Linked DNA regions of Homo sapiens: all the other regions are linked to region 2. Evidence: promoter capture Hi-C in human tissues and cell types (Jung and others, 2019). All regions are on one chromosome and are shown on one strand. Each heading gives the region's core, a stretch centred on a gene start or on the middle of the fragment in contact. The rest is flanking DNA. Distances are from core to core; before and after follow the strand shown.

Region 1 (3,004 bases), core at 153-2,652, 1.1 Mb after region 2:
AGGTCCATTTGGTCTAAAGTTTAGTTTAAATCCAATGTTTCTTTGTTGATTTTCTGTCTAGATGCTAATGCTAATGCTGAGAGTGAAGTACTGAAGTTTCCCCACTCTAATTATATTCCAGTCTATCTCTCTCTTTAGAGCTAGTAATATTTATTATGAATCTGGGTGATCCAGTGTTAACCCTACTAAATTTTTCTGATAGTTTATCTTTAAGCTCCTCTCCTTCACATGGGTTGGGCTGGGCAAGAGTGAAGGTGGACATAGAAAAACCTCTCCCAAAAACATCATTTCTTACACTTTTATTTCTCTGTTGATCTGATATATGGAAGAGGAAGGGTGCTTTGAATTGAATGGGCCCAGTGCTATTATTTTTAGATAGTATAGGGATGATATGGTTTGACTCTGTGTCCCCACTGAAATCTTATCTCAAATTGTAATCCCCATAATCCCTATGTGTCAAGGACAGGTCCAGGTGGAGGTAATTGGATCATGGGGGTAGTTTCTCCCATGCTGTTCTCATGATAGTGAGTGAGTTCTTGTGAGATCTGATGGTTTTATAAGCATCTGGCATTTCCCCTACACATACTCACTCCGCCTTGCTGCCATGTAAAGAAGGTGACTGCTTCTCGTTTGCCTTCTGCCATGATTGTAAGTTTCCTGAGGCCTCCCCAGCAATCCATAACTATGAGTCAATTAAACCTCTTCCCTTTGTCAATTATCCAGTCTCAAGTATTTCTTCCTAGCCGAGTGAGAACAGACTAATATAATGGCTTTCTTTAGAGTATGGGAATATGCAGTTAACTTCTATTTCATCTTCAAATCTTAGCTATAATTCTGGCCCAATAAAAACATATTACTCTCATATGTAAACATGAGATCTTATAACATATAATATCATATCATATTTGCCTCAGTAGATTGCAATTGGATTGAAAGAAGAAAGTCAAAACTATCCTATTATTTGTCACATTCTACATAGGCAGCTGGGAACTTAAGCAGTGACTATGCTGGGTAGCTTAACTTCTAATGAGGAGCAACAGCCCAGGGTGCAGGGAATTCCTAACTTTAGACCCAGCTAGGTTTCCTTTACTATTAGTAAACCCTGCCTAAACGTTCATATGCAGGTAGTCTGTTTCTCTGAAATAAAGGATATCACAATAATTAAAATCTGTTAATATATGTGAAGTTCTTAGAACAGCACTTGACACATAGTAAGTACAAATATAATGAATTCTTATAATTGTATGTTGCTTCAACATCCATTTTGAATGTAAATGGCTTGACTTTCCATATTCAATGAGTTAATAGGTTTGACTTCCTCATACAAGAGGCAGAGCTTAGTCACCCTTGACAGAGTTTTCAGTTCTCCACCTCTTCCCAGTTTTTCAAGGTGTTTCATTCAGATATCTGTCTCATTAACTGCCTCCTGGTGACTACTTCCCTACGAGATAGTTACATTCAACCTACTTGCTCTACCCACTCCCACATGTGGCATGTGCTTTGTAGATAGGCCACAGTGACCACCTTTCAGTCACTGCAGGACTGCATCAAACTGCCCACTTGCTCTTAAACCCACCAGTTGTAACTCCCCACCGGAAATCTACCTAGGAAATGGCCTGAACCCCAATAAAGTCTTTGGACCTCAGGTCTCTTACTCTATCTCTCTTGCTCCCCACTTGACAGTTGAGTGTGTGTCCTGGACTCCCTCCTTCCTGTCGGTCCTGAAAAATGTGCTGCTCTCTTCTCTCTAGGGTATATGTGAGTAATAAAACTGCTTCTATTATTCCATGTGATATAGTTTGGCTGTGTCCCTACCCAAATTTCATCTTGAATTGTAGCTCCCACAATTCCCACATGTTGTGGGAGGGACCCAGTGGGAGGTAATTGAATCTTGGGGGTGGGTCTTTCCTGTGCTGTTCTCGTGATAGTGAATAAGTCTCACGAGATCTGATGGTTTTAAAAAGGGGAGTTTCCCTGCACAAGCTCTCTCTTTGCCTGCTGTCATCCATGTAAGGCGTGACTTGTTCCTCCTTGCCTTCCATCATAATTGTGAGGCCTCCCATCCATGTGGAACTGTGAGTCCATTAAACATCTACCCTGTATAAGTTACCCAGTCTCTGGTATGTCTTTATTAGCAGTGTGAAAACGGATTAATATACCATGTGTTTTGTTGTGCTGCCTCTTCTGCATCTCACACGACCAACATACCCGAACCTAACTTCTTTTCCAGTCAGGGCTCTCCTACAGAGTGGCTATCTTGGTAGGAATAAACTATTCACAGGTCTGGTGAGAGTCACAAGGGCATTTGCCAGTGTAAATAAGTTTCCTGTGAGAAGAACAATTGGACACGGGTCAGACACTTTAGCAAGTTAAGTATTCTGACAAAAGATAAAGGTCAGGATAAAAATGAAATTAGAGAAAAAAAATACAACTCAATAAATGTTAGCTGTTAAGTATAGCTTTGTCTACCCAAAATACTTCTCTAATTATCTTATTTCGGTAAAACACTGTTGTAGATTGCAAAAGCAGCCCAATTTTCTGTTCCTCTGTGTATAAATGCCTTTTACAATGATCAAGAGGTAGAGACTTTTCCCCCAGTTGCTGACTCTGGGCTGGGCTAGTGACTTGTTTTGGCCAATAGAATGTGATAGAAATTACATTTTGCCTGTCTGAGCCTAACTCTCAGAAGGTCTTGTGGACTTTTGCTCTCTCTTGAGATTTTTTCCTCTATTATGAGAACAAGCCCAAACTAGCCTACTGAGGGTAATAGACCATGGGGAAAAAAGCTGAGTCACTTCAATTGGAAGTCAGCCAACCCCAGAAACAGAGCTGCTTAGCTGATGTTCAATTGATTACAGGCACATGGGGAGGCCCAGCCAGTCAAACCCAGAACAGCCCGGCTGAGCTCAGCCTAATTCTGTGACTTTCAGGATGAGTAACAAAATAAATGATTCTTATTTTAAGTCAAAATTTTGGAGAGCAATCTTCCTCTTGTCAATGTCTA
Region 2 (3,002 bases), core at 462-2,961:
GATATTGCTAAGGCAACATTTTCTTTACAGATGTTATTAAACATTGGTAAGAAAGGAGAAATAAACTGGTAACTTCACATGGGCACGTGAGACCCTAGAGAATGTCGTCACCATTAATCAATTTTTCTAACTGATCAAGCATAAACAGCCAAGTCCAGGTGGCCAAGTCAGCCAAGTCCAGGTGGGCAAGTCCTGGAGCCATAAGTTGTCTTTCTACCACGGTAAAAAAGGATCCTGGATCTGAGACCTGGCCAGGAAGCCTGAAAAGCACGTGTCCTACTCTGAGTTTGGGGAACTTCCCAGGAAGCATTTGTTCAGAGTAAAACTCCATCACCCCCTGCCTGCCTAACTCGGTGAAGGGACAAGTACGAGCCAGGGGAGGTAAACTCTGCGCCCCGGGTAGCTCCCAGGAGGAAGACACCGGGAGGCAGCTGCCCGCCCCGGCCCGGTCCGGCTGCGGCCCCCGCCCGGCTCACCTCTGCGGCAGGGATGTTGACCACGCCGGTGGAGCGCCGCTTCTCCCGCAGCTTCCTCTTCTCGATCTGCCCCTTGCCTTTCCTGGCACTGGGGCCCGAGCTCTTGCCCTTCTCTGGGACGCCGTCCGGCTCCTCCTCGTCACGCTGGGGCGGCGGTGCAGCCGAGGCAGAGGCGGCTGGGGGCTCGTCCTCCGACCGCCGCGGGCCGGGGGCCGCCCGCGTCAGCATGGCGGAGCCGACCGCGCAGTTCACGCCCCCGGGACCGGGGACGGCAGGTGCGGCCGGCGCGCCGCCCGGGAGGTTGTTGTTGAGCTCGTTGGCAGCGGCGGCCGCCGGGGTGCCCAGAGCCCCCGCGGGGGGCTTCCCAGCGGCGTCGCTGCTGCCCCCTCCCGGGGGGGCCGGGCCCGGGGGGTTCTGCTTGGCGCGCATCTTCTCGCGTTTCGCCTTCCACTCCTCCAGGAAGTCTGTGGTGCTGCCGCCGAGGCCGCTGCTGGTCCGGTAGCCACCGGTCGCCATATTCCCAAAGGGGCCGGTCGGGCTCTCACCTCAGGCCGCCCACCAGGGCTCCGGCCGCTGCCTCCTCTTCCTTCCTGCGGCCCCGAGGATGCCAGGAGACGACCTCCAGGAGAGGGACGGCCGCCGCTCCCACAGCAGCCGGCGGGGCTGAGGTGAAAGACAAAAGGGGGCGGGTAAGGGAAGCGTAAGATCCCCGCCCGACCCAAGGGTCTGCCCCCGGGCTGCGCCCCTTGGAGTCCTCGAGCGCGCCCACCAGTCACTACCGGCCAGCAGCCGCCGGGTCCCCACCCTGCAAAGTTTCTCCCACGCACCTACAGTACGGACCCCGACGATCGCCGCCCCTAGAAGGGAGGAGAGAGGACTGACCCCACCCCCAAGTCGGCCCGCCCGCCCCATCCCCACCAAGGTCCGCGCCGGCGGCGGTCGAGATACTAGGGCTAGACCCGCCACCTGTCGGCTCGTCGTATCGCCTGCTCCGCGCTCTAGCCACCGCCGGTCCGAGGTCCCCGTCAGCTACAACCCCACTCCCAAGGCGAGGCGCGGAGCTCCTAGCCGGTTCGCAGAGGAGGCGGGGACCCAGCTGTCCCGCCGAGCGTGGAAAGGACCGGGTGTGAGCGAGCGCCTTACCTTGGAGGAGCTTGTAGGGGACGAGGCGTAGGGCTGGGATCCGGCTCCCAGGTGTGCCGAAGCTGGCGCGCGCTCTTCCGCCGCGCGGAAAGTGCCGCGGCAAACTCGCGGTGCGGAGCTCCAGGCAATCCCAGGACAGGAGGGAGGGAGAAGAAGGAGGGAGGGAGGGAGGGAGGGAGCCAGGGGCGGGAAGGGAGCCGAGCGGCGCCGAAGCACGAGCGGAAAAGGCCGAGGCGGCGCGCGAGGGGCGCGGCGCGCGGTGGGAAGGGTCGTGGCCGCTGACGCCCCGCCCCCGGCGCTCAGGTGCGCGGCGTCGCGTCCGGCCCGCCGCTGCAGCCTGCCCTGCGCCAGCCGTCCTCTGCCCCGCTCCCGCCGCAGACCACAGCGCGCCCGCCGCGCTCCGCCCGCGGCCTGCGAGTTAGACGGCACATTCCTGGGCTAGCAGCTTCGCGGCGTCCGGCCTCCCGGCGCCTCCGACTCCGGGGCGGGAACGGCACTCCACGCCCTTCTTGCTTGTCTTCTCCGCCTCTCTCTTCTCCCACCACTCTTCCTTTTAAGTACAAGACCGTATTATTTGAGAGAAAGTCTCGAACGCTGCTGGCTAAGGGGAAAAGTGCGATAACTTGTGATGATTCAGGGAATGACTAGACAGGATGGGAAAATACCCACGTGTCTCTTTTCCTAGTCGCTGCTCCCTTTTCAGATGTACTAGGGCAGCGGGCAGGAGAATAGAAAGACCTGAGACAAACCCAGCACCCTCCTTCTAAGAAAACTGCGGTGCCCTGGTGAAAAGGGTTGGCTAAGAGGAAGGACTTACTAGTATCTTAGGGTTGCGGGAGAAAAAACTCAGTTCGACAGTTTATTGTATTGGCGATTCCAGTCTTGGAGTTTTCCCCTTAACCCTGTCTCTGCCTCTCCTCTTTACAGAGAATGAATTTAGCAGCAAAGCTCCCTACCAAAGTACTAACGCTGCACTGATGCTAATTTGAGATGAGCTGGGGCAGTGATTGTCTCTATTTTTTCATTATTAACATGCCAGAGGCTTATCCTCTGATGCAAGTCATCTGAAATTTCTGGATCAGAGCGGGGTGGGCTGTCACTGACGCACCTAAGACTGACCTTTCTATATCCAAGTAATGTCAGGGCACATCATTGTGGGAGGCTACAAATGCCAGGTCTCCATTTTGTAAAAAAGTAGGAGAGCCCTAAGTCACGCTCTTACCTAACATAAACCTTTCTTCCTACTTAATATTCCTGTTTTGCCCAGGTAGCACATGATGAGTGAGCAATCAGTGTTTGCCTGCCACAGAACTGGGAACAGAAGAAAGTGATTCACATGCTCTATATTTCTCAGGGAAAGACAGTTTTGGTCTTTGGTCTGGC
Region 3 (2,745 bases), core at 184-2,683, 1.1 Mb after region 2:
GACAATGTGGATGAACCTAGAGGACATTAAGATAAATGAAATAATCCAAACACAGAGAAAAAAACACCACACGGTCTCACTTACATGAGGAATCTAAAAAAGTTGAACTCACAGAAGTAAAGAGTAGAATAATGGTTACTAGACATGGGAGTTTGGGAGTAAATAGGGATAGAGGAGACACTGATCAACAGGTAAGAGGGTACAATTAAACAGAAGGAATAATTTCTGGCATTCTGTTGGATAGTAAGGTGACTACAGTTATTAATAATATATTGTATGTTTCAAAATAGCTGAAAGAGAGAATGTTAAATGTTCTCACCATAAGAAATGATAAATATTTGTGTTGATGTATATGCTAATTACTGATTTGATCATTCCACAATGTATATGTATTTTGAAATATCACACTGCATCCCATAAATACATACAATTATTATCTGACAGTTGAAAATAAAATAAAATAGAATTTTATGTTGGAAAAAAAAGATAAGGTAGTAGATTGGATTAGGATAACAGTAAAGAGACCAAGAGATTTATTGGAAAGACTGTGTGATTGATTGACTATTGGATGAGAGGAAGAAAAGAAAGATTTCAAAATAATTCCCAAGTTTCTGATTCTAATGTTATGAATAATAACATTTCAGTGAATAACTGAAATAGGGAATGTTAGTGTAGGAATTTCATCATAATTTTTGTTCTGGTTGTATAAGTGTGATCATCTAAATGAAATTCGATCAGATAATAGTATTCAGTATTTCAGTAGGTGCAAGAATTGTGTTTTATGGGATCTACACTATATTTTCTGATTAATTTCAACCTTAGATAATAAAACGAATTGAATTGAGTCTTGTTAGCACTTTAGATTATGGGGAATTACTAGATTAAAAATACTCTTTAAAGCTTTAGGGTTCAGGAGTTTGTACTTTTCAAAGCATTGCTTAAACAAACTGAGGTAGTGGGAAATGAAGAGAATAGAGTCTGGTAACATAAAATAAAACTCATAGCAATTTTTTGTTGTTGACCGAGGTCAGTTTAGTTGAACCGTCTTGCAAGAAATAAAAACACATTTAAAATAAAATTCAAAAAAATGAATATCTCAAAGTATTGTAATTAATCTATTCTATTGTTGTTTTATACATTTTTGTACCTTTATTATAGCATTTATCACATTCTACAGAGGATTGTAATTATTGCTGTTACATCTTTGTGTCTCCTACCCAATTATAACCACTTACTGGGCAAAGACAGTGTCTTTTTTATTTTTTCCCACTCGCAACTCACACACTGCTTATATCTCACTCAGTATATGTTTACTGGTCTTTTAAATTATCAGTTTTAACTTCTTCTGAGGCAATTTTTTAATAGGCTGGATCCAAACCAGTTTTCCTGAGAACTAATACAAATGTGAACTTATATTTGATGAACTAGATTGTTAGACCTTGTAGGGCAAGAAAAAAAAAAACCCTTTTCTTTCCTACACATCTTAGGCTCATTGAATGGAGTCTTGTAAATTAGACCGACGAAAGACAGATTGTCAAGAGAAAAACACACTAATTTATTTACTATAAGTTTCACATGACACAGGAGCCTTCCTAAGGAAATAAAGACCTCAAGAGACTGTTAATCTTGAATGGTTTTATGCTAGGTGTGATGAAGAGTGGAGAGTCTTGGGAAAATTTGATAGTACAAAAAGATATCATAGGAGAAAGGGCTAAGTGTAGTAAAGTGGGGGACATTTAGCAAAGTCTGTTCTTTCAGATTCCTCCTGGTAACTCTCCATCTTCAGAGATCAGGATGCTCCTTTCCTCCAGGTACAGGGAGTGCACCTCTCACATGAGAGTCTCATGACCTGCTTAAGGGGAAGAAGCTCAGAGAGTCCTTCCTGCACCTGCTGTTTCTCAAATTCCTTCTGTTTGAAATCGTCAATATGCCAAGGCAGCATACTCTGGGGTAGTGCTTTCTGAATCCTTTTAACCCTGAAGCATGGGAAAACTACTGACTTACCTCGAAGCGACATTCAAAGAATTTGCCATTTTCTTGTCTACCTATTTATTGTTTCATATTATTCTTATTGTTATTGTTCTGGCCCAGTTATACTCAACGGGTGATATGAGGGTTGTGTTTCACCATCTACTCCTGGTATTTGAAGAGTAACTTCTAGACAAGAAATTGTGATAGAACCGAGGCTTGCATTTTGTCAATCTTATATTAAAGGGGAAAACAAGTAAGAACAGTGCTCAATAAATCATCTTCAATGTTTCTCAGATCCGCTCTACACATTACTCTTTCCTCCTTCCCACCCATTCAATTATTCAGCAAATATTTATTGAGTTTTTTAGGAAGTGGGGGCACACCGATGAATAAAACAGATTAAAATCTCTGCCTTTGTAAAGTTTTTAATTCAGAAGAGGGAAACAATGAAAAATAAGCAGCACAGAAGAGAGAAAGAGAAGGGCTAGTGCAGGGGGCAGATACAGACACAGATATGCATGTTGGAAGCTAATAAATACTGACGAACAAAGGAAAATATTAAATAAAGTAGATAGAGTAGGCCATACTGTGAAAACAAGATCCCAACGAAGTGTTGAAGGATCTGCAGGAATTAGCCCAGCAGTTGTCTCGAAGAAAGTATCCTAAGCAGAGAGAAGGCTAGCTCAAATGTCCTAAGGTAGACATACCCAATGTTCCTGAGAAACAGCTCAGGGGCCAATGTGGTTGGAGGGGAGTGAGCTAAGCGGGGCTAGT

Evidence for each region. The method cuts DNA at HindIII sites, captures the fragments that hold promoters and counts their contacts. A contact is called where the count stands out against the background at its distance.
Region 1: a contact is called between a fragment that was not itself captured here and the fragment with the promoter of PAWR in region 2, in 1 of the 25 tissues and cell types used here (IMR-90 fibroblasts).
Region 3: a contact is called between a fragment that was not itself captured here and the fragment with the promoter of PAWR in region 2, in 1 of the 25 tissues and cell types used here (lymphoblastoid cells).

What each region holds. Positions count from the first base shown.
Region 1 is chr12:80,775,508-80,778,511 of GRCh38, forward strand. No RefSeq gene overlaps it. Among named protein-coding and RNA genes, the nearest start is that of LINC01490, 14 kb to the left of the region's middle. RefSeq lists enhancers at 2,214-3,004, 2,658-2,887. The HindIII fragment of the contact is 6,837 bases long and covers 1-3,004 here.
Region 2 is chr12:79,689,253-79,692,254 of GRCh38, forward strand. It overlaps PAWR (pro-apoptotic WT1 regulator), which reads right to left and starts at 1,712. Exons shown (of 7, transcript NM_002583.4): 1 at 1,620-1,712; 2 at 477-1,139. The coding sequence starts at 992. It overlaps PPP1R12A-AS2 (PPP1R12A antisense RNA 2), which reads left to right and starts at 780. Exons shown (of 7, transcript NR_187531.1): 1 at 780-1,144. RefSeq lists silencers at 420-939, 1,710-2,009. The HindIII fragment of the contact is 10,737 bases long and covers 1-3,002 here.
Region 3 is chr12:80,758,880-80,761,624 of GRCh38, forward strand. No RefSeq gene overlaps it. Among named protein-coding and RNA genes, the nearest start is that of LINC01490, 2.9 kb to the right of the region's middle. The HindIII fragment of the contact is 5,402 bases long and covers 1-2,745 here.